Regions from separate parts of the Homo sapiens genome. Here all the other regions are linked to region 1. The links are contacts of gene promoters, found by promoter capture Hi-C in blood cells and fetal thymus (Javierre and others, 2016). All regions are on one chromosome and are shown on one strand. The core of a region is centred on a gene start or on the middle of the fragment in contact, and the rest is flanking DNA. Distances in the headings are between cores, read along the strand shown.

The links. The method cuts DNA at HindIII sites, captures the fragments that hold promoters and counts their contacts. A CHiCAGO score of 5 or more calls a contact.
Region 2: the fragment with the promoter of TGDS here is called in contact with the fragment with the promoter of ABCC4 in region 1 in 2 of 17 cell types (non-activated CD4 T cells and activated CD4 T cells); the score reaches 6.1 in non-activated CD4 T cells.
Region 3: a fragment that was not itself captured here is called in contact with the fragment with the promoter of ABCC4 in region 1 in 1 of 17 cell types (erythroblasts); the score reaches 5.8 in erythroblasts.
Region 4: a fragment that was not itself captured here is called in contact with the fragment with the promoter of ABCC4 in region 1 in 2 of 17 cell types (endothelial precursors and M2 macrophages); the score reaches 8.4 in endothelial precursors.

What each region holds. Positions count from the first base shown.
Region 1 is chr13:95,299,413-95,303,641 of GRCh38, reverse strand. It overlaps ABCC4 (ATP binding cassette subfamily C member 4 (PEL blood group)), which reads left to right and starts at 2,191. Exons shown (of 31, transcript NM_005845.5): 1 at 2,191-2,401. The coding sequence starts at 2,328. It overlaps LOC102724149 (a long non-coding RNA gene), which reads right to left and starts at 2,691. Exons shown (of 3, transcript XR_429273.4): 1 at 2,379-2,691; 2 at 1,316-1,696. RefSeq lists silencers at 1,686-1,745, 1,926-1,985, 2,016-2,655 and enhancers at 1,472-2,246, 3,849-3,908. The HindIII fragment of the contact is 3,485 bases long and covers 625-4,109 here.
Region 2 is chr13:94,594,296-94,598,524 of GRCh38, reverse strand. TGDS (TDP-glucose 4,6-dehydratase) reads left to right here and starts at 2,373. Exons shown (of 12, transcript NM_014305.4): 1 at 2,373-2,474. The coding sequence starts at 2,389. RefSeq lists an enhancer at 2,200-2,509. The HindIII fragment of the contact is 5,991 bases long and covers 1-4,229 here.
Region 3 is chr13:94,656,674-94,660,902 of GRCh38, reverse strand. No RefSeq gene overlaps it. Among named protein-coding and RNA genes, the nearest start is that of LINC00391, 50 kb to the left of the region's middle. RefSeq lists an enhancer at 1-135. The HindIII fragment of the contact is 364 bases long and covers 1,653-2,016 here.
Region 4 is chr13:95,834,759-95,838,987 of GRCh38, reverse strand. It overlaps UGGT2 (UDP-glucose glycoprotein glucosyltransferase 2), which reads left to right. Exons shown (of 39, transcript NM_020121.4): 37 at 1,786-1,902. Among named protein-coding and RNA genes, the nearest start is that of DNAJC3, 160 kb to the right of the region's middle. The HindIII fragment of the contact is 621 bases long and covers 1,649-2,269 here.

The DNA of each region.
Region 1 (4,229 bases), core at 942-3,441:
CAACCTCCGCCTCCTGGGTTCAAGTGATTCTTCTGCCTGAGGTTCCTGAGTAGCTGGGATTACAGGCATCCACCACCACACCCAGATAATTTTTTGTATTTTTAGTAGAGATGGGGTTTCACCATGTTGGCCAGGCTGGTCTCGAACTCCTGACGTCAGGTGATTCACCTGCCTCAGCCTCCCAGAGTGCTAGGATTATAGGCGTGAGCCATTGTGCCCAGCCCAGTGGGCACCTTCTTAACTCCTTGTAGCCTGGAACTCCTGGGCTAAAGCCATCCTCCTGTCTCAGCCTCTCGAGTAGCTGGGACTACAAGGGTACGCCACCACACCTGGGCTAATTTTTAAAACTTTTGGTAGAGACAGAGCCTCACTATGCTGGCTAGCCTGTGCTTGACTTTTAAATATGTGTTTGTGTAAGGCTTTCTTTAAAAGCTATTAACTATACTATTTTAGCAAATATACATGGGAAATTATCAAGGAACAATAAAATGATCTTGTTCCAAGCACCATGAACTTGGAGCCTTTCATTTTTTTTCATTCAGGGTGGATATGAAGAGCAGCTGCTGACCTTGTTAAGGTAGCCACAGAAATGACTGAAGACTTAGAGGTGGGAGTACACAAGCTTGGAACAAGATTTTGTTCATTCATTCCTACAGCCATTCAACCAGCATATTCTGGGCACTTCTCATGCACACTGGCCATCCACCAGGGAGACAGGCCATGCTTAGACATAGGCTTATTGCAAATCATGTTTTATCCTTTCTTGGCTCTAAGACTGGACAAGTTCTGCCTTTCAGCTTCACCTTCCTCATCTATAAAGTAAGGATAACCTTGAATGGGGCACTGATAGAATTAAAAGTGAGATAATTGGTCGGGCGTGGTGGTACATGCCTGTAATCCTAGCACTTTGGGAGGCCACGGTGGGAGGATCACTTGAGCCTAGGAGTTTGAGACCAGCCTGGGCAACAAAGTGAGAAATTATCAAGGAACAATAAAATGATCTTATTACAAAGAAAACCAAATTCTCAAACATGCATGAAATATGAAGAAAATAAACCTCCATGACAATCATTTGGCTTCAAAAATTATCAGTATTTGAACTTGGAGCCTTTGATTTTGATTTTTGCATCTCTACAAAAATTACAAAATATGAGCCGGGTGTGGTGGCGGGTGCCTGTAGTCCTAGCTACTTAAACTGAGTTGGGAGGATTGCTTGAGCCCTGGGAGGTCGAGGGTGCAATGAGCCATAATCGTGACACTGTGTGTGAGACTGCCACACACACACACACACACACACACTAGTGAGGCTACGCACTCAGAAATGCACATGAACATCACTGGTATTCTGGAACCCACGTGTCGTTTGCCACTGTTATCTGTTAGGCTTTAGGGCTTGACGACAGAAATCATCAGGCAGTCTCTCTTTCCTCTTATATTCCTTTCCCAATCTAAGGGGGCAGCAAAAAGCTCAGAGGTCCACCGTAGCATGCAACATGTGAGATGCCTAAAGCCCGCCCCCATCGACGACAGCATTCATCCATCTCCCGAATTCATCTGGGTCATACTCTCGAGTTACCCGGCTTTCTTGAGGTCTTGCAGCTCTACAAGGATAATCTGTGGCTAAACTTTGCTGTCGTCCAAGGTCAAATGTTTGGCTCACAGGTTGAAGAGCCTCCCATGGCACCGTCGTTTGGTCCTGAGAAGGGAAAGGCGCCCAGGGGGCGGGCTGCTAGAGCACGAGGCAGCTGTCTCCCAGTCTTCCCAAACCCGTAGCCGAGGGGGCGTTTCTGCGGCGCAGGGGCGGGCACAGCCGACGCCTCCCTGCTCCACCTTCTGTGTCGGCGCCTAGACTCGGATAGTGAATTTCGGAAAGTTTCACTCGGGTTCGTGCACGTGGGCACCTCCGGACCCGGCCTCCTTGCCGCGCGCTCTGCTACCCTCTCCATCCAGCGGCGCAGGCGGCCCTCGCCTCACCCCTGGGCGTAGCTCTGGGCTCCCTTTGGCGTCGCCAGCTTCGCCTCCTCCCGCCGCGTCTCCTCCCGCCGCGTCACCCGTCGGTCCCGGCCGCGCTCGCACGCGGTGCGCAGCTCCCGGGCTCCAGGCGGCGGCGCGTAGCGGGCGCCCCCGAGGCGGCGGGCCTGAGAGGCGGGGACGGGGCGTGCCGCCGGCGCCCGGCTCCCGGAAGCGGCTGCTTCACAGGCTCCAGCCGAGCGGACAGGCGTGGCGGCCGGAGCCCCAGCATCCCTGCTTGAGGTCCAGGAGCGGAGCCCGCGGCCACCGCCGCCTGATCAGCGCGACCCCGGCCCGCGCCCGCCCCGCCCGGCAAGATGCTGCCCGTGTACCAGGAGGTGAAGCCCAACCCGCTGCAGGACGCGAACCTCTGCTCACGCGTGTTCTTCTGGTGAGTGTCCCCGCCCGAAACAGGTCACCCTGCAGCCGCTGGCGCCGCGGACGCACTCTCCCGGGGCCGCGCCCGATGCTGCCCAAGCCCTCTGCGGCTGGGGGCGAGGGGAGCGCTTTCCTACGCCACGCGGTCCACGCCGGGGCTTTCTGCTGCGGGTGGCGCCGCCCCCACGCCGGCCGCGTGGTCCCTGCCTGCGCCCCGGGGCGCGGCGCAGGGGGACGCGGGGACGCGGGGCCAGTGGCTTTGCTACTGGAGGCCCTGCGGGCCCTTAGGGCTCGGGGGAGGAGGAGCAGGAGGTGGGGAGGCGGGGAACCCAGGCTGCCGAAAGGGGGAGTCTCTTGCCCAGCGGGAGAAGCGACTGCACCCCTTACACGCCCACCCTTCGCTGGCTCCCGCCTCCTGCTCTGGGACTCGCAGTCTCCTGAACTCAAACGCACCTTTTCCTTTCTTTTTAAGTAAGCAGCTTACGAACAGTTTCCTTTATCTGATCTCAGCCAAAGCCTAATTAGTGTCCTGGACCTATGCCATCTCCCAGTAGTGTCCCCACCCCTTCCGATATTCCTTACGAGACAGCTCGATCCAACTCCACGTCCCGTTGTACCTCTCTGTGTCCCGGTGTCTCTGTATCTTTTGTCTCAGTGACCAGGGCTCTCCTTTTGCCTCTTTGTGGGAATCTCACTGTGTGTCCATGTGGGTCGTGGTACCTAGTTATGGCAAGTTTCATGTGGGTAAAATAACACTATTATTATTTTTCATTTATGAATGGGGACCCTGTTCTTGAACAAGATTTTCCAGGATTTGCTTTTAACTGGGACATGCACCGCCACGACTGGAGTCTGTCTTTGACCAGCTTCTTTCCCCTGTTTCCAATACTTTCACTTCCACGTAGGAGGACAGCTCGGAGGTGGGGTCCCTGGAATCGCTAACCTTCAGAGAGGTGATCCATGGTCTTGATGCAGGTGGTTCCTACCAGGAGTTCTACCTTCTTAAAACCACCCCAGGGCTCCTGAGCTGGGAGGGCCCACAGCCCTACCCATTTTGTGCAAGGAAACAAACGGAGAAAGACTCGGGTGACAGTAGTAACTAAAATTTCCATCTTGGCCTGGCGCGGTGGCTCACGCCTGTATCCCTGCACTTTGGGAGGCAGAGGTGGGTGGATCACGAGGTCAGGAGTTCGAGACCAGCCTGGCTGACATGGTGAAACCCCGTCTCTACTAAAAATACAAAAATTAGCCGGGTGTGGTGGAGCACGCCTGTAATCCCAGCTACTCAGGAGGCTGAGGCAGGGGAATTGCTTGAACCCAGTAGGCGGAGGTTGCAGTGAGCTGAGATCGCCCCACTGTACTCCAGCCTGGGTGACAGAGTGAGACTCCGTCTTGGGGGAGTGGCGGGTGTGTGTGGGGGAATTCCGTCTGCTAACTACATAAGCCTGAACCTTTGAAGGGCTTCAATCTCACTTGGATGATTATTAGATCTTCTGTTTCTTGACCTCTGCCGCCTCATCTTTCCCACATGTTGATATTGCCTTTTATTATGGGACAACCTAGGGTGGGGGTCTCCAATTTTTTGGGTTCCCTGGGCCACACTGGAAGAATTGTCTTGGGCCATACATAAAATACACTAACACTAATCATACACTAACACTAATGATAGCTGATGAGCTAAAAAAAAATCGCAAAAAAAAATCTGATGTTTTAAGAAAGCTTACGAATTTGGCAGCCCATGGGCCTCAGGTTGGACAAGCTTGACCTAGGGGATTCCAAGAGGATGAGTCGCTTACTCTTGTTTCGATTGTGGTACACTCAGTGGGTGTAGGAACTTCTCT
Region 2 (4,229 bases), core at 1,124-3,623, 710 kb after region 1:
TGTCTCAAAAAAACAAAAGTATATAAAGTAAAAATTAAACTCCCCATTTCCTCCTTTCCCTGCCCATATCTCATCCCTAAAGGTAACTTATTTTAAGAGTTTAGGGTCAATCCTTTCAAGTAAGCCACAAATACCACAAATATATGTGGTATTACAAATACCACAAATATATGTGGTATTTGTAAACCAAGGACAGGAATAAAACTGGTCCTGAAGAGAAATCATAACACAGGCCTTGAATGTTAGGCCTTTCCTATCTTTTCTTTCTTCTCAATCAACTTTGTTTTTCTCACTGTGAAGACAGGCTTTCTGGCTCCTCACTTTGAAAGAACATGGCCACCAAAAAGTTCCAGCTTTGTAGGACCTCAGAGTTCAAGTAGAGTAACCAGACTATACTAGCACCTTAGTCGAATTCTAAATCCCAAGAAGAGGCTTCAGTTGGCCTAGAGTCAGCCAGATTTCATTCTGTGGCCTGCCTGGGTCAACTTGGGGAGATCATAAAGGACAGTGGGGGGAGGAGTCTGGTCAGAAAAAAACTGTACGTATCGACTGCAATATATTTTGGTCTTCATTCCATGTTGGTATATTCTTTTTAAAGGCTATATAGCAGTTTACTGCATTTTAAAAGTTAGAAGACATTATACACATTTAGATTATTTCCAGTGTTTCATTATTGCAAGCAATACAGCAATGAACAATTATCTATATTATACATCATGGAATTTGAGGGGGTCATAGAATATGAACATTTGAAATTTTCATATGTTTTACCACTTTGCCTTGTAAAAAGGTTGTGGTATGATTCTTCCACATATACACCTGTACTGGATGTTTCCATTCGTTTTCAGCTTTGCCAAACATTATGGTGGGGAAAAAAAGATATTTATCTATTCGACAATATTTAATGGTCATTTATTCTGTGCCAAGTCTCTAAGGACATGCGATTACAGCAGAAAACAAAACAAAGCCCCTGACCTCATGGAACACTAAACAGAGGGCAGTGACATCAATGTAAATGTTGAGTGCTAGGAAGAAAAATAAAGAAGGATAAGATGATTCGGCAGGGTTGGGCAGAGCTCGCTATTTTAATTGTGGTGGTCAATAGGATGCCATTCAAGCTGAAAACGGAAGTAAGGGTAAAAACTAGGCAGACATCTGGGGAAAGACAATCAAGGTCCCGGGGAAGTAGCATGCCTGGCACATTGAATGAAGAGCAAGGAGGGTGGGGAGGCTGGGGCGGAGTGAGCAAAGGAGAGAATAGAATAAGACATCAGCGTAGGACCTAGGGAATATCTTTATCATGATTGCAAGCCTTCTGCGCTGTCTGTAATAATAATATTATTATTTTTTGAGACGGAGTTTTGCTGTTGTTGCCCAGGCTGGAGTGCGATGGTGCGGTCTCGGCTCACTGCAACCTCTGCCTTCCGGGTTCAAGCAATTCTCCTGCCTCGGCCTCCCAAGTAGCTGGGATTACAGGCGCCCGCCACCACGCCCGGCTAATTTTTGTATTTTTAGTAGAGACAGGGTTTCACCATGTTGGCCAAGCTGGTCTCGAATCCTGACCTCAGGTGATCCGCCCACCTCGGCCTCCCAAAGTCCTGGGATTACAGGCGTAAGCCACGGCGCCCGGCCTGAAATAATATTAACAACAGCAAAAGATCATTTTGCAGGCCAGGCACGGTGCTCACGCCTGTAATCCCAGGACCTTGGGAGGCTGAGGCGGGAGGTTGGCTAGATCCCAGGAGTTCGAGACCAGCCTGGACAACAGGGCGAAACCCATCTCTACCAAAAATTAGGCGGGCGTGGTGGCGCACGACTGTATTCCTAGCTACTCAGGAGGCTGAGGTGGGAGGATTGCTTGAGCCCCATTGGTCGACGCTGCAGTGAGCCGTGATCGCACCACTGCACTCCAGCCTGGGTAACAGAGGGAGACCCTGTCCCCGCCCCACTAAAAAAAAAAATCATTTTTAAATTGCAACCTCCCATCTCCATCTGCAACAACTCCCCGTTCTCAGCTCAACTGATAGGTAACCTCTAGAGATGGCTGTAGTACAAGAATGAAAAAAGGTACTCATTCATAAATCTGATCCATAGTGGTGGCATTTCCGGGAAAAACGTTCCATACCCCTACCATCCGGGCGACCCCAATTGCACCTGGCGGACCAGGCAAGGGCGGAAAGGAGCAGCGCCTGCGCGTGGTGAGCGCGGCCCCGCCCAGCCCGCTAGTGGGCGGGCAGAAACTGGCCACAGAGCAGTCTCCGGAAGCTGCCTCTGGCTGCTCTGTTAACGTGTCCCGCGAGCGAGGCGCGTCGCAAAAGGTCGCGGCGGAACTTCCCTGCGCTTTTCAGACCATACTCTTTACGGTACTAGGCACTGCTGAGCTGGGAGATGTCGGCGGCGTGTTGGGAGGAACCGTGGGGTCTTCCCGGCGGCTTTGCGAAGCGGGTCCTGGTGACCGGCGGTGCTGGTTTCATGTAGGTAATGGCGCCGCTAGCCAAGCAGTGGCTCCCCAGAAACCCCTACCTTTTCCCGCAGCTCTGCTTGCCCTAGGTAATTTGGGTCCAGCTTTGAGGGGTCCTTATTCTGATATGGGGAGGGTCCTAATGCACGACCTGGACCAGCTTTTCTCTCTCTGGCCTGCAAAGAAGTGGTTCCTTTGAAACTGACTTCTTTAAAACGCCTCTTCCAAAGCTGCGTTACTCTCCGCCCTTCTGTGGCCGGAGGTGCTCACCATGTCACTCCTTGAGTGCGTGCAAGTTACCCTAAGCTGCTCACCGACTGCTTCCCACCTCCAGCCTAGAGCACCCACACCCCACGATGGGCCCTGTACATATAGGCACCCCCAAAACGATTTAAGGACTATAATAGGACATCTATGTAATCAGCAAACTTTTACAAATCCACTGTTGACACCCTTTTCTTCCTCAGACCCACATTCGAGCAGCAAGTCCTCTCTACTTCCAAAGTATATCCTTACGGCGACCACTTCTCACCAGTTTCCCGTTTCCACCCTAGCCCATGTTTACTGTCATCTTTTGCCTCGACTGCTGCTGTAGCCTCTTGGTTGGCCATAACTGCGTCCACTCATGTTCCTTTAAAGCCTGTTGCTCACATACAAGTCAGTGTTTCTTAAGTCAATCAGATCATGGTAGAAGCAGGATTTTACTTCAGTGGTTCCTGCCACACTTAAGAATAAAGCCCAAACTCTACCATATCTAGAAAACTCAAGTGCCCAAGCCCTACTTTTGCAACCTGATCTGCTTTTCTGTACCTGCCATGCTTCCCCTCTTAGTTCTTGGAACACACCAAGATACACACTTCTGTCTTGAGGCCTTTGCACTTGCTTCCCCTTTCCTTAGGCTGTTTGCACCACTCAATTCTGGTTTTTATTCAGATAGCACCTCAGAGAGTTCTTACCTGACCACCATATCTAAAATAGCCCCTCTCCCAACTAGCACACTTAACCTCTACCTGAAATTATATTGCGGATTTGTGTCTGCTTGTTTATTGCTTGTATCCCCACTCTAAAATGCAAACTCGGTAAGGACAGAGACTACTGTTCATTCAGCACCTGGAAGAATGCCTGGCCCATTCTATATAAGTCTTTAGTAATTGTGGAATGGATGAATGCAAGAGTAATAAACAGGAAACTCTCCTATCCTCCCCTCAAGGAACTCAGTGGCTAGTGGAAGAAGTGGGAATGTGAGGATTCCTGTTTATGGCCATTTGCACATTAAATCACCCCTTCTAATCCGACAAGTCATTTGGGGGAGAGCATCAGGCTGGCAAGTTTCACTTAATGAGAAAGAGGACTATGGACATGAAAGGGTGATACTTGTGTGAGAGTGCGGGTCCAGGAAGGGTGCGACTTAGAAAGTGCTGTGAAAGGAATGCCGAATACAAACTTCAAGTTCATAATTTGGTCAAGGGCTCCCCTCTCCTGGGAGCCCAACATTTTAAGTATACATGGTAAATCTGGTAGATCATTTCACTGAGATATGCCTGTGATTCCCCTTTAGGGTCCTCTGAAGCCCAGGACCCACTGTGGATATCCAACTCAGAATGGTTTCAGCTGTTATTAGCCTGGGAATCCTGGGTTTAGTCTAGAAGCCTCCTGAGGATTCTGGTTTAACATTACCAAAATCTTATACCAAGAAATAGCAATTGCAGAAGTTACTATTAAATATAGACAACTGACTATACTCATAGTAATTTCATTTTTACATACT
Region 3 (4,229 bases), core at 585-3,084, 640 kb after region 1:
GCACAAAATGGCTTAACGATCCCCCCTAGTGGCCTGACTCTTGTTACTATGATTTGTGAATACTCTCCTTTCCAAAACTGCCCTATTGGTTTGTTTATAGGTTCATAGCAAAGAAACTGCAGATAAAACCAAAGTCAGATCATTTAGAATTGAACTGAGCTTCCACTAAATTCCTCCTTTTTTGCTCCTAGACAGTGGCTATTGCTCTTAGAGCAATCAGACTAAAGATTCCCACAGAGCCAGCTTTATATCTTGAGGGTTTTCTTAAAACTGATGAATAAACTCAGGTTTCCCACGTTCACACTTCCATTGCTGAAATCAGTGAATAGCAGGGTGTAATGCACTCTATCTTTTCAATATTGCTGGTGGTAGATTTGAGTTTCTGAAGGGAAAATGAGTAAATCATAGAAATGTTCTATGTCTTGTTTTCAGGTAGGTTTGGCCCAAACTGGATTATTTCAATCCTTTGGGATAGAATTATCTTTAAATGATTGAAAAACCCTATATGTTTTTCAAGTGTAACCTCCAAGAAAATGCCTGGTCATCATTGCCACGCCAGTGTTTAATCCTTTTTCTTCACTCTGCATACAAAGGGTGGGCCATCCATTTACTTCAGTGTTTACAGGTGAGATGAACTCTCTTCTGCTTCCTTCAAGGCCCCTGTGGACACCCAAGGGAGGCTGTAACTGAGCTGAAGCCATCTGAATATTTTAAGCTCAGAACATGGAGACAGGGAGAGATTTCCAAACCCGAAGGCTAACTTCTTTTCCTTTGACCACGTTGCCAGTCACATTCCTCTTCTGGAGTATGTAGTTTTGGAATCTAGCACTTCCATTCATCATGGAAGGGGCTATACAGTTTTCCCCCTTAATAGCTCACATGGAAACACTATCAAGATTTCTTACATTACTGGAATATTAAAGAATATTAGATATGTACTAAATGTGCATCTACAAAAAATAGTGCAAAATAATCCTAAAGCCCTAAATCCTGACCTGCAAGAAGCTTATGTTAGAAAAAAGTAACATCAAAATGAATCCATTGCCAACCTCTGCACTTCAGCCTTGAAAACTTCCAGACCTTTCAGTCCTGTTTTCTTCCACATATTTAGACTATTTCCTTCAAAATCACTTGGATATGACTTCATTTCCTTCCTTTCAGTTTCTGCAATCTCCATCCTGGTCCACAAAATCATCATTTCTTGCTACAAATATCTCTAGGAGCCCTAGTACCTACTTTTATTTATGGATTAATTAATCTTAAACCCAGTGGCAAGAAATTTTTCCCTAACCATGCAACTTTCCTTCTTAGAAATCTGCTCTAGTTCCCAATTACATAATCATGAAACTTAATCTCCTTAGCTTTTAGGATCCCTAAAATGACCAGCCTTTTCAATCAATCAGTTAGTAATGTAATTGTCATTTCCTCTATCTGCTAGCTTTCCTTTCCCACCCTAGTTAGTTAAACCTGTTTGTACTTCCTTGAACCACCACTTGGGATTTTGCACATACTCAGACCTCTCCTGCGTAGGCAGATCAACCCTGAAGCTAACAAATCTTAAGCTTCAGGGCCTTGCTTGCACCAGCTAAGACCTTATGCCTAACTTTGCATTTGTTTTCTTAAGGAGGACCCTTATATAAATTGTATAAGCTTCACTTCCCACAAAATCAAGATCCACTCCAGGCTTTCTCCTTTATTATTTCACCTAGGTGTGGACATCTACTCAGTTCAGAATGTTCTTAGGATATACACACATGCCTGTTCATTCTCTCTCTCTCTCTCTCTCTCTGAACTATGTATTGCACTTGTGTCTGTTATCAGTTTTAGGAGCCTGAGGGTTTTCCTCCCTCCAATTGTGCTATCTTTCCCATTAGATGATATCATAAGCCATTCTAAAGTAGGGACTATTTCTTATTTATATTCTGTAAGAGTACTGAGTACCAGAATATAAGAGCATTGGTTTAATATTTTAACATATTGAACAAACATGTTTACCAACTGCTTCTTGAGGAAGCTTGAAAATGGTTTACTTATAAGTGTCTATTTTAAAAATTATTAGAGGCTAAACCTATAATTTCACAATAGCAAGATCATTCAAATAGAAATCAAAACAAACATTCATAGAACATGTTCATTGCTGTATCTTTAACCCTAGCATGGGCGGGTAATAAATACTTTTTGAGGCCACATGCAGTGGTTTATACCTGTTATTCCAGCGTTTTGGGAGGCTGAGGTGGGAAGATTGCTCGAGCCCAAGAGTTTGAGACATGCCTGGCCAACAAGGTGAAACCCCATCCCCACTAAAAAAAAAATACAAAAATTAGCAGGGCCTGGTGGCAGGCACCTGTAATCCCAGCTACTTGGGAGGCTGAGGCAGGAGAATCGCTTGAACCTGGGAGGTGGAGGTTGCAGTGAGCCCAGATCACACCACTGCACTCCAGCCTGGGCAATAGAGCGAGACTTCATCTTGAAAAACAACCAACCAAACAAACAAACAAATAAACTTTTTGAATAAATTATACATAAGTCAGGACTTGGAGTGAGAACAGAGAGACTTTCTCATTGGTTTATGTAACTGAAAAGCCAGAGGCTTTCACTGGCTCCCGGCACAGCTGGATCCAGAAATCAGTCTCTTCCCCCATTTGGTGCTTCTTTCTTCTGCATTGAATTCACCCTCAGGCAGGTCTACTTCATGCAGTTGCATGATGACCTTCAGCACCTCTAAGCATCCTATTGGTTCAGAAGCCACAGAATAAAAAATCAAAACAAAACTTTCCCAAAATTTCCAACAAAAGTTGCAAAATTGAGTCTCACTGGGCTGACCTTAGGCACAACCTAAGTCATGTGTCCCTGCTGACCTGTGCTTAGAATAGACATGCAACTTTGGGGATGGGGAGGGGAGTGAACCTCATTGAGACTATGGATTGAGAGAGTGGTTAGAGGTGATTCTCTAGAGGGAAATTGAGATGCTGCTTCCAAAAGAAGGGAACAGATGCTGGGTAGGCAAAAATGGCCATACCTGCCTCCTGGCCCTCACGTAGCTTTTGATCTAGTTGGAGAGGAAAAGACAAACGCCTGAAAAACTAAATAACAATATAAATAGATACGTAATAGATATGTAAGTAGTATTGCACAGCAAACAAATGGTGCACTCACATGTGTGAGTAGGAATGAGATCATCCTGAAGAAGTCCTTAAAAACGAATTCTAAAAAGCACCTATATAAAGTATCTTTGTCATTCTAGGCCACTTCCATTTCTTTACAGAAAAAAATGACGAATACTTAAAAAGAAACAAAAATTTCTATAAATTGATGGTTGGGGTATAATTTGGTAGAACCACTGTAGAAAATAGTTGGGGATTACCTCGTAAGGTTGAATATATGTGTCGTCTGTGACCCAGTGGCCCCACCCGTCAGTGTATGTCTTAGAGAATTGCTTTCATAAGTGTACAAGAATATCCAATGTCTTTATCATCAGCACTGAACATAGTCACAAGCCAGAGGTTGCGCCAGACATGCACAGCTGTGTCATTAGCCACTGTGTTCCATGCATTGGCAACAGCATATACAGCATCCTTCACACTAAACTCCTTTTGAAAACCTTCCACACCCACTTCTTTTCACTGCTTCTAGCATGCTATTCAATAAAGTGTTTTTGTATTTACTCCTCATTCACCTAAGCATACCCTGGTTTCATGGCTGAATTAATGCAGTCACATATGGGGGAAAGTACATGGCATAGACATTATTTCTGAGAATTTCAGCTGGAGAATGAGATTATTTGTCAAGGAACAACAAAATCTTGCAGTCACCATCCAGTCCAGCCTCCCTGCGGTGAGCACAAGCTACTGGCAAAAAATGTTTGTGAAACCAAAAAGAAAAAAAAAAAAAAAAGTCCCTGGTGACTCATACCTTTCTGTAAGCATACTAATGGACTGGTAAGAAATTCACTCCTTGAAAACAGCAAGGATGCAAGTATTTTACTATTACAGCAAGTTTACATTTATGCATGCCTGCTGCATTAACACATCCCAGCACATTTGTTCTGTCCTTGGCCTTCTTAATCCTGTAAGGGCTGTCTCATCAGCTGTAGTCAGTGTCTTTCTGGGGCAATAAAATTGAAACAGTGATGTTTCATCAGCATTACAGACTTGTTCAGCATCAGGTTTTCATCAGTGATGACCTTGGCAAACTCATCAATGAATTTCTTATTTTTATTTATTATTGTT
Region 4 (4,229 bases), core at 710-3,209, 540 kb before region 1:
ATACATCAAGGAATGAGGGACAGTGAAATAGTGGTAAAATCAGTTGATTGGAGGTTCCAAGGGGTCAAAGGATATTGATATCTGAGTACTCAGTGGAGTGAGCCAAAAATCAAGAGGTGGTCAGAGAGTGGCACCATGAAATTGAAAGTATAGAAGACTTGGTCTAGTATATAACCATTTGAGTTAGTAGCTTAGATAATATGGTAGGCCAGGTTATTTAAGGAAGGGATTCCAAGGAACTAAGGGTGTCAGAAGGGACAGTTAAGGTTTTTCTTTCTTTGATTAACGGACTTTATTTTTTTAGAGCAGTCTTAGGTTTACAAAAAAAATGAGCAGAAAGTATGGGTAATTTTCTATTTCTGGGCTCTTTATTGTGTTCCATTGATGTATTTGTCTCTTATTTTTCCAATACCACACTGTTTTGATTACTGTAACTTTATAGTAAGACTTCAAGTGTGGTAGTGTCAGCCCTCTGACTTTATTCTTCAATATTGTGTTGGATATTCTGGATCTTTTCCTTTTTCCCTAAACTTTAGAATCAGTTGGCCAATCTCCACAAAATAACTTGCTAAGCCTTTGATTGGGATTGTGTTAAGTCTATAGATAAATCTGGGAAGAACTGTTATCTTGACTATGGAGTCTTCCTATGTGTGAACATAGAATATCTCTTCATGTATTTCAGTGTTCTTTGATTTCTTTCCTCAGAATTTTGTAGTTTTCATTTTGTTGAGGAACATATTTTATTAGATTTATGTTTAAGTATTTCTCTTTTTCGGTGCTAATGTAAATGGTGTGTTTTCTTAAATTTCAAATTATGTTTGTTCATTGCTGGTATATAGAAAAGCAGTTGACTTTTGTATATTAACTTTTTATCTTGTAACATTGCTAAAATTGCTTATCAGTTCCAGAAGTTTTTTCCCTTGATTCTTGGGATTTTCTGCATAAACAATCCTGTTATCACAAACAGTGACAGGTTTTTTTCCCTTCCCAATCTATATACATTTTCCTTTTCTTGTCTTATTGCATTTGCTAGGACTTTCAGTGTGATGTTTAATAGGGATGTTGAGAGAAGAACCTTAAAATTGTGAATCTTGGAGCTTATGTAGGACAACCAGCACAAGTACCCTTCATACTCTTGGAGAGAGAGGAACATGCCTTTGCTCTTGAATATAAGCAGATCTTCTATAGGGAAAGGAAGGGAAGGACTCCACCCCTGGAATATAAACAAATATCTCTGGGGAAGATTTGTCTGATTCTCTCCAAAGGTCTCTAACTTACTAGGCTAGTTTGCCAGTCAAACATCCATTAACCCAGATGCCAGCAATCTTTACTTAGAGAGCTCTGAGCATGCAGAAATGGGAAAATATTCATGGATCATTGTTTCCAATGGGGAGATGAAAATTCACCTCAGAATCCAGAGAGCATTGTGGTGACCAATATGAACAGTAATTGCAGGCATAATGTGAGCAATAGAGGCAGATAGAGGTAGTGAGGCTGTCCATTGTGGGGACTATTGAATGGTAGGTTTCTATGCCTCCTTCTTCATCCTTGTTCCCAGGGGTAGAGTCTAGGAGAGATGTAGGTATATTCCAGTGCATGGATTCATTCATGACACAAGATGATTGGATCACCTTAGGTATTTTAAGCTTTAAAGTGTAGAGAAATCTCAGATTTGCATATGTTTTATGATCTGTTTACAGTCTAACTGATGTCTTACTTCATTCAGCTTCTTTCCTTCTGACTCTAAATTTCATACGTCTATGATTAAATCACAATTTTCTGTAGGATCTCCCCAATAATATGATTTACCAAGTCGCCATTAAGTCTCTTCCTCAAGACTGGCTGTGGTGTGAAACCTGGTGTGATGATGAATCCAAACAAAGAGCCAAAACAATTGATCTGGTGAGTGTCTTTGTTTTCATTTGTATGTAAGCAGATACAGAAATGTTTAAATAGAAATATTTTCTTTCTGTTTTACAAAGGGAGTGGCATACGTATTACTTCGCTTCTTCTGCTGTTCAGTCTATTACACATTTACTTAGGTTGGCAAGTATAGGGTTATTTTGGGGGCCCCCAAGACCACCCTGAGGTTTGATGATTCACTAAGGAGATTCATGAGATGCAAAATATAATCATATTCATGGCTTGATTTATCACAGTGAAAGGATATAAAGCAAAGTCAGCAAAGGGAAAAGGCACATGGGGCAAAGAGAAAATCAGGTGCAAGATTCCAAGAGTCCTTTCTCTGTGATATCACACGGGACAAGCTTCATTCCTCAAGCAATAAGAGATTCCACAACCAGTGTGAAGTATTACCTACTAAGGACATTTATTAGAAACCCCAGTGTCCAGGGGTTTTACTGGGGGCTGGTGACCATATAGCACTGTCTGCCTGAGACACACCTAAATTTCCAGCACTCAGGAGGAAAGCAAGTGTTTAGCATAAACACCTTTGCACAGATAATTTAGACACAGTGAGTTACTCTTATAAAGGAATGGTGAGAACCATCCTGAACCCTGTGTTCCCAGATGCCAGCGAGGAGCCAAACTTACAAGCAGGTCTTTCTAAGAATAGCAATTTCAGGCTTTCTGTATTAACTCTTTTCTGCAAAAGGACTTTTGAAAAAAAGGCTTAGAGGGCTGGGCACGGTGGCTTACGCCTGTAATCCCTGCACTTTAAGAGGCCGAGGCAGGTGGATCACCTCAGGTCAGGACTTCGAGACCAGCGTTGCTAACATGATGAAACCCCATCTCTACTAAAATTACAAAAAATTAGCTGGGCGTGGTGGCACATGCCTGTAGTCCCAGCTACTCAGGAGGCTGAGGCAGGAGAATTGCTTGAACCTGGGAGGCAGAGGTTGCAGAGAGCGGAGATGGCGCCACTACACTCCAGCCTGGAGACAAGAGCAAAACTCCATTTCAAAAAAACAAACAAACAAAAAAAAAGGGCTGAGAGCTAGCTGAAAATGTTTGTGGATTAGCTATCATCTTGACATGTCTTCAGTTTAGTTATCCTGCCAATATTTTCCCCCAAATAAAGGCAAACAAGACAATTTTGTCTACTTAAAATATATCATACATGCTTTTTTCTTACTTATTTTTAAGAGATTATTTTTCCTAGATTTTCATTTAAAGCAGTTTATGCTGTGCAGTTTAACTCTCCTAAACATAAAATATTTCAAAGTAATTTATTTGTTGTCCATTTAGATTTTATATTCCACTACTACCTTGTCTTTAGTAGGTATAATAAGTTTTTTTCCTAGTATATTGTTTTTAATGTGCTAAGTGTAGAAAATTGTTTACAAGATCTTCACTGACGAATAAGCTATTAAAATGTTAGAATTCACACAATTTTGAACAAAAAAGAGCAGGAAAACAAAATATAGGAACTTTTTCAGACATGTATAGAAATACATATTTTAAAAATAGCATGCCAGCATGTTAGAATGTAATCATAGTTGGTAGAATATAGCAGAAACAAATAAAAAGGCATTTTTAAGAGGTAAGCAAGGGAATTTCATAAAGAGAGGCCAAGAACATTATTGAACACAACTACTAATATGTTGTTAGGGTTCTGTTGTGGCTCATACAGTAGTGGTGTAGGTCATTTTGGGATCTTTAGTACTTAGACTAACATGAGCTACCATAACAAACCCCCAAAATTCAGTGGCTTCATACTCATTCCAGCAGCAGACCTAAGTGGATATCTCCGTCATTGAGTAGCCCTCCTGTGTGCCATGTCTCAGGGAGTACTTTTTGTCCACCTGTAACTGCTTCTTCCAGTGCAGTAGCCACTTGCCTTATGTGGCTGTTGAGCCCTTAACATGTTGCTATTCTGAATTGAGATGTGCTGTAAGGTATAAAGTACACACCAGATTTTGAATACTCAATACAATGAAAATAACATATATCTCATTACTAATTTTTGTATTGATTACATGTTGACTTAGTATTTTGGATATATTGGGTTGAATAAAATATAGTATTAAAATTTATTTCACCTATTCCTCTTACATTTTTATACATGGCTACTAGAAAAATTTAGTATTTTTCTAGTGAAAAAACCCACAAATTATGTGTATGGTTTTCATTGCATTTGTATTGGATAGTACCAATCTGGAGGGAAGGGGAAAAAAAGTGTGGAGAACATATATCTTGAATCCTAAAGGCATGGCCCCTTGGTGGGAGTTGGTCACGTGGCCATATCTAGATGTAACAGGAGCTGAGAA